2 separate regions of the Homo sapiens genome follow, and region 1 is linked to region 2. Evidence: promoter capture Hi-C in 16 types of primary human blood cells and fetal thymus (Javierre and others, 2016). All regions are on one chromosome and are shown on one strand. The core of a region is centred on a gene start or on the middle of the fragment in contact, and the rest is flanking DNA. Distances in the headings are between cores, read along the strand shown.

Evidence for each region. Contacts are between HindIII fragments. The CHiCAGO score rates a contact against its expected background, and 5 or more counts as called.
Region 1: a contact is called between a fragment that was not itself captured here and the fragment with the promoter of BARHL2 in region 2, in 1 of 17 cell types (non-activated CD4 T cells). The highest score is 5.1, in non-activated CD4 T cells.

Annotation. Positions count from the first base shown.
Region 1 is chr1:91,233,128-91,236,888 of GRCh38, forward strand. No RefSeq gene overlaps it. Among named protein-coding and RNA genes, the nearest start is that of HFM1, 170 kb to the right of the region's middle. The HindIII fragment of the contact is 154 bases long and covers 1,207-1,360 here.
Region 2 is chr1:90,715,669-90,719,583 of GRCh38, forward strand. BARHL2 (BarH like homeobox 2) reads right to left here and starts at 1,634. Exons shown (of 3, transcript NM_020063.2): 1 at 903-1,634. The coding sequence starts at 1,527. The HindIII fragment of the contact is 6,796 bases long and covers 1-3,915 here.

The DNA.
Region 1 (3,761 bases), core at 34-2,533, 520 kb after region 2:
CTCTCTGTGTGACAAGCAGCCCACAGTTCTTTCACAAGACTCTTTCATGAGATTCTTGGTCATGCTGAAATCTGAATACTCTCTGTACATAAAATTCTATTGATTTCCATTAAGTAGCCCTTTAGAAAAAGGAAAATTTACTTACATTGGTATGGCCTCTTCTTACTGAACTCATACTATTCCTAGCATCATTACTTACTTTGTAAACTAAAAAAACTATCTTTAAAATTATTAGTTCTAGTCTTACTGACTATTCACGATATTTATTCTTTTGGCACCATTTTTAAAAGATTACTGATGTCATTGCAGCTAGTCAATGAAAATACCAAATGATAAAATGAGTAGCTAGCATGTATTTATTATGTCCCAGATGCTATGTTAAACTGCTTTAGCTGAATTATCACCCTAGCCCTACGAGGTATTTACAACTGAAATTTATTGCTGTTAAACCATTTGCCAGGAGAACACAGTCGATTTATCTGATTCCAAAACCTGTTTCCTCAATCAATATGATGTTACCATGCCTTGGGATACAGTGATTTAGATGTGGAATCTTAAACAAGTTGGGCCTCCAATTCCTTATTATTTCTACCCTTTCCACTCAACTCTGATGGGCCATTTCTTTCCCCAAGGGGGAAAAAAGGTAGTAAAATAGGAGTACAGAAGTTCTACTTCCTCATTGTTGCTATAAGTTAACCTACCATCATTATTTTCAAGGTGGGGCCTTCCTCTCCCCAGAACTCTTTCTGATCTGAATTTAATGTTTTCTTTAGCATTTTTTTAAAGAGATAGTCTCATTCTGTTGCCTAAGCTGGAGTGCAGTGGCTCAATTGTAGCTCACTGCAGCTTTGACCTCCTAGGCTTAGGTAATCCTCCCACCTAAGCCTCCCAAGCAGCTAGGACCATAGGTACCTACCACCATGCCTGACTAATTTTTAATTTTTTTGTTTGTTTGTTTGTTTTTTGTAGAGATATCGTCTTGTTATGTTGCCCAGGCTGATCTCAAACTCCTGCCTCAAACAGTCTTTCCATCTTGGCTTCCCAAAGCTCCTGGGATTACTGGCATGAACCACCATGCCCAGCCATTCTTTAGCATGTTTATCTTGTTCTGAGCATTAGTCTTCATTCCCAGTGTGTTTTGCTGAGTTACTCCAATACCTTGGGTATGTTGTCATCCTGTCTACTTTTTATCCATGCTTATCAGAAAGCTTGTTGTTTATCCTAATTTGTCTCAATGAATTCCTTCAGCTTTTCTTCCTCAGTGGGACGATTGCAATGATTGGAATCAAAATGTGCAAAATATTCATTTTCATTGTCTGCCTTACTTCTAATGAAGTCACCATCATGGCATCAGTTATCAAGCTTTTCCATTGAGCCAATAAGAACTAGTGCACTTCAGAAAAAGCCAAGCTTGTCCTGCATTGTCTAGCCATTCTCTGCTACCTGCATTTGGCAGTAGGACTTTGCTTGGTGATAATGTGTTTCCTCTAGTAAACTCCTCCTGCATTCTCAGGAATTTTCCTGGGTAGGCAGCACACTTAGAAACTCAAGAAAATGAACCTGCCATGACTACGTCACATAGAAAACTTTCCAAGTTGTTATGGTTCTGATGTGGAGAAGGGAAAGGACATACAATAGTGGTAAACAACTCAAGTATAGAGTGAGTCAGATGTACAGTGAGTCCACCATAGGTAACGGTGCAAATAGTGCCATTTCTTAAGTTTTAATTTCCTCAAATGAAAACTGGTATAAGTGTGGGACAATGGGATAATGCATATGTTCCTTACTGTAATTCAAGTGCTCCTTAGCACAGTAGATGTTAATATTATTCAACTCCTTAGACCCATGTGAAATTTTGATCAGCTGCCCAACGTCATATCCACAGCTTGTGACTCTTGGTGAAGACACTTACCCACCTTCTAAAGGCTTTGTGAACTTTCTCCTCATCCTCCAAGTGGTTCACTCTTGTTTACTTTTGAGCACAAAACAGAAGCCAAGTGATTAAAAGACATTGTTTATAGTTGTAAATATCTTTTGAGACAGTGTCTTTGGGTTTTAAAACCTGGGAGAGAGGAATTAACTCACGAAAGGACTGGTTTCTTCCCACACTTACAAACTTCCACTAGCACTCCATTTTTAAAAAAGCCTGAAACTATATGGGAACAAAGAAGTGAAGTGAGCTTGTGCTGCAAATAAAAAGGCAAAGCCAGATCTTCTGCTGTAGGGTCTCCCTGGGTTGTGGTCATAGTTCTGTTTGGGATTATCACACAGTTTGGGAAAGTCAGTTCAATCCAATGAAAATGATATGAATATAGCTCTGTGCCATGAATCCAAAAACATTGTATTAGTTTCTGTTACTGCTGTAACAAGTTAATTACCACAAATTTAGCAGCTTTAAACAGCACGCATTGATTACAACACAAATTTATGTTCTGGTGGCCAGAAGTCCAAAAATCAGTGTCCCTGAGTGAAAAATGAAGGCTGTTGCTTGATTTCAAAATCCAGAACTGCATTCTTTCTGTAATTTGTGGCCCTTCTTCCATTTTCAAGGCCAGCAATGTAGCATCTTCAATTCTAGCTCCTTCTCTCATTCTCTCTCTGACCTCTGCTCCATGGTCACGTCTCCTTCTCCGACTCTGACTCTCCTGCCTCCCTCCTTCACTTATAAGGACCCTTGTGATTACATTGAGCCCGTCCAGATAACCAGGATAATCTCATCTCAAGATACTTAATTTCACATGTGCAAAGTCCCTTTTGCCATTGTAAGGTACCATATTTATGAAATTTCTGGGATTAGAATGTGGACATCTTCAGGAGCCATTATTTTGTCTACCACAGGTGTGGATTATATGTTCTTTCCATAGTCATAGGGCACAGATATTATCAGACCCAGTTTATATTTTGCAGTCAAGACTTCTAATGGGACAAGTTGGCATTCAGAGAAGCTGAAGTTAATAAAATAAAAAGCAGGTATCAGCATGCACTTTATCACATCACCAAGAGAATCAAAACAGTATGATAGTAAATTTGACTTCTTGTCGTGTTGAATTCTTCTTTCAGTGTTATGTTATCAGAAAGAGGCAGTACTGTTATAATGTAATTTATATAGTGCCTTCCCCTGAGTGATGAACAGAATATTCCTTAGTATCCTCAGAGAATTAGTCTCTCTATCTCTTTTTATCCCCGCTCAGGCACTCCAGCAATATAATATCCAGCAATATAATATCTGTGTGCAAGAAATAAACCAGAGTCACTAAATTTAAGGATGTTCACTTAAAGAAATTCCTTTTGGAGTTTCTTTTTTTTAAATGTCATTTGAAAATGCTCTTCTCTGGGTACAATAGAGCCACTGACCCACATTAGATTAATTAGGTCAATTAGCCTTTACATAGTAATTACCACTCAGATAGCTTTGAATAATATCCTTTTAATGCACACGTTCTTTGAAAAGAGGTTTCCAATTTAAATTCCTGCCACATAATAGCATTAAGAAAACATGCACCTCGCAATTCTTTCTGCAATGTGGTTTTGGGTATAGCAATGATATTGGGTAGATAAAGCTTAAGGACTTTGCGTTGATTAGTTGATTATTCACATTTACATGTTGTTAAAAGCTACATGGGTATTTTCCATTTGGAGAGGCTGTTGGTAACCCAGAATGCCAGGCCTAACTGAGAGTAACTACCTTTCTTCCTCTAACCTGTCAATATCAATTCCCACATTTTAGATTCATTCTGGTCCCAGTACCTAACCGTGGACTC
Region 2 (3,915 bases), core at 384-2,883:
TTTACCAGAAAAACAAGGATCAATAATAATAAACAATGTGTCTGTAAAGGAAGAAAAAGCTCTCCTGGTATGTTAAAACTTTTGCCATGCAAAGACTACCACATTTACTTATGAAATTGTCTGATGAGAAAATGGAAAAAGGGAGTTGAAGGACAATTTCCATTGTCATCTTATTTTTTTTTTAACAAAAAAGAGATTAATCCAATTTCATAAGATTTTATTTTTATAAATACTACCTCCTAAGTACTTGTAAGGGGCCAAAAATCTTTGTAGGATACAGATACTCAGTTGAGGCCATAGGGTAAGAAGGGTGCTTTTAAGAAACTTATTACAAATTTTTACGGGCTAACCACAATCTAATTTTTTTAAAGTTGCTCTGTTCATGAACTCAGAAATTTTTCCTCCATTAAAACCGATAATTCCTGTGATGATGTTAAGAAAATAAAGTGGGGGGGGGGTGAAATCACTTGTACTAAAGAATAAACACCAGGTTGTGATCACACCCACGCTAGCTAAGTGGTTTCTCTCTCCTACCTCCCCCCATTCCCATTCCCAAAGTCTAGGCTAGAAAAACCCCAAGTCCATCCCTTTTATCAACGAAAAGTATTTCCTGTCGGATGCCCTCCGCCGCCCCTCAACCCCCAGTAGATTAAAATTAAATAAAACAAAGGAAGGAGCTGGATGGCCGTGAAGGTTGTGGGGTAGAACAATAAACAGAACTTCGAGGAGTCCCCACATCGCACGCCCAGGCCTCCCTTCAGCTGCAGTCTTTTGACCGTCGCCCAGTCGCCCGAGAAGCTCCTGGAATCGCTCCCCAGCAGAGATCTGCTGAAGGCTGAAGGGGAGATTGGGAACCAGGAGGACAAGCTAGACGGCCGAGAGCGCCGGGTGGCGGGACTCACCGTGGCATTTGATGTCGCTCTGGGAATCCTCCCGCTTGTCGAGTTTGGTCTTGCTGTCCTCCTGCTCGAGCTTTGGCCTGAAGCTCTCGTGCACTGCGTTGCTCTCCTGCTTCGGGGTGTGGTGGGGAGAGGATACGCTGGTGCTGTAGGGTGCACATGCCGCCAGAGGTTTGCTGTCGCCCAAGATGTCCTTAATTAAAAAAGAAGACGTGGAAGTCCTGGGGGCCGAGGCGGCCGAGCCCAGCTGCTGGGGGGGCGGCGGCGGCGGCTGCTGTGGCGGCAGCGGCTGCTGCTGTTGGGGCAAAGGCTGCAAACTTTGCGTCGGGGCCGCGGCCGGCGGCGGCGGCTGCTGGCTGTGGTGGAGGTGGTGATGATGCTGGGTCGCGTCTGCTACCAGATGCGGCTCCGGGGGCTCCATGGTGACTGAGATAGGAGAAGAAGGCGCCGTCCCTACGGTATCAATCTCCGAACAGGGAGATGGGGTGGCCTGACTCCTAAAATCCGCGGTCCTGGCCTCACCGAGCGGGCGGAAATCTCCATTCATCATGCCTGGGCTGCCTGAACTGGCACTGGACAAAATCGTGTCTATTCCAAAACTCGACCCGCTGGCCCCTTCCATTGTCATTGCTACATGAGGTCCACGCCACTCCGCCGTTCAGCAGCCGCCCCGAACCAGCGAAGAAAGCTATCGATCGTAAAACAAAATAAACACCAAACAATGTTGCCGCCGCTTAAAAAAAAAAAAGTGGGGCGGGGAGAGAAGGAAGGGTAATTGGGAAGTGGCAATCTGTGGATACTTTCGACACAACTTTTTTTCTTTTATGCAAAAAGTAGGGGTGGAAAGAAAAAAGATGCGGGGGGCGGGGGGAGTTAAAAAAATTTCTGAGAAAACTCGGAACTTGCGCTCCAGGAACGACTGCGCACGTGGCGCGGCGGTGGCGGCGCGGAGGACCCAGGCGAAGGCGAAGGCGAAGGCGAAGGCGCAGGCGAAGGCGAAGGCGCAGGCGGCGGGAAGCTACGCCAAAGCCGCCGCCGCCGCCGCTGCCGGGGTCTGCCCACAGCCTGGCACCGGGCGGCAGCGGTGGCGGCGGCGGACGCGGCAGGTGCAGCGACCGCGAAGCCCGGGCGGCCGCGCGCCCTCGGAACTCCCCCGCGGCTCCCGAGGTGGCAGCCGCGCGCCACTCGGCAGCCCCGTAGCCGAGTTTCTGAACTTTCTTGGAAAGTTGCGGGGCAGACACGGCCGCAGCGGTTGCGGCAACCCGAGGAGGAGGAGGAAGAGGAGGACGACGAGAAGGAGCAGGCACAGAAGGAGGAAGCGGCGGAGACGCGATGCCGGGCGACTCCGGCCGCTGCCGGGCGCGTTCGCTTGTAATCCGGCTGCTGGCGGGCGGCGCCGACCCCCTCCCGTGACGTCACGGCCACTACCGCCGCTCCCCGCGCCGCGCCGCGCCGGGCCCGCGCCCCCGCCACCGAGGCCGCGCGTCCGGCCCCGCGCCCCTATTGGCCGCGCCCGCGCGAGCGAGGGACGCCGACGTGCCAGGGAGCCAATAGGCGCAGCGCTCGTGAGCCCGTCAGCGGACTCGGCTCGGACTCCGCTGCTCTTTTGAGAACCCGCACATCCCTGAGCCCGCAGCCCTGAGCCGAACTCCGAGTCCAGTGGTCCCGGTGTCCACAATCACGAGTGCGAGGCAAAGGGAGAGGGAGGAAGAGATCAGAGGGAGACCAGAGAAAGGGAACCAAAGGGGAGAAAGAAAAAAAAAAGTAGCAAGGATTCGCCCGTTTTCTTAAGTCAGAAGAGAGAGAGAAGAGGACGGGAAGGGACTTACCTTTAGGCTCCAGCGCGGCGGCCCTCGCAGCCTCCCCAAACGCGCGCGGGAATAGTCCGAAGACATTAAGAGCGGAGGAAGGAGATCCCTGAAGGAATCCACAGAAAAGTGTGTCACTTCAGGCGCCGGAGCCTTGCATAAGCGGGCGGGTCGGCTCTGGGCTCTGATTTCTCGCCCGACGAACCCAGGCGCTCGGGCTCAGCCCGGCGGGAGGCGGATCCCTGAGAGGGACACAGCCGGGTCCGCGTCCACCAGGCGCTCTCGGGGAGGACGAGGCCTGAGGCTCCAAGCTGGGGAACCAGCCTGGTCTCCAGCTGGAAAAAATGCCTGGCCAGACGCTTTCTCCCGAACGGGGGAGCTAATGCCCGAGGCGTTCTCTGGTGGCGAGGGCAGCCACGGTTCACTGCGGTGTCGGGCGGGCGCGGGGCTCAGGACCCATAGCGGCTGGTCTGCAGCCCGCGCCCCTGCCGCGCCCCGCGGCAGTCCGTCCACCTCTGTCCCCCGGCCCCTTTCGGCGAGCGCTCATTTGGAAAGGAAACAGTCACTGCGGATCCACTTGGGACCCGGAGCATGACTGTAACGCCTCGTTGGAGTGTATCAACTTGCATTATTTTCTCTAGGACGTCTCCAACCTGTCTCATGTTGAATGTCAGAGTAATGGGAAGTGCCAGTGACAAGACGGCGTATTACTCCTGATTAAGTGCCGTGTCAACCTAATTAGCAGAGTAATTATAAGGTGCTAATGAATGATTCAAAGTTCTTTGAGTTACATTTTACTCCAAATTACCATTTTAAGAACCCTATGAATCTGCGAGGCGGGCATCGCTTCCGTGGCTAGGTCTGGAATGATGTTCGAGTGGCCTTTAATGTCTCCAAAGGCTGGGCCGAAATCTGGAGTTTAGTTGCAGTTCTGGAGGTCACTTTCTGGGCCACAGCTTTTATCTGTTGAGGACGAAGGGAGGGGTGTCAGGGAGGCAAATGACCTCCTGGGACAAGCTCTTGCCTTTCGGTCGGAACTGCTTCTGTGTGAGCCCTGGGTCCGGAAGCGGGTAGCTGGGCGACTCATCCTGCCTGCGTTTTCCTAGGGAAATCGGTGTGTTTGACCCAGAAAAAAAAAAAAAAAAAAAAAAAAAAACAGCACTACTTGGAGGGTGGGTTGAGCTGTTTCTCATCGTCTCAGTGGCATT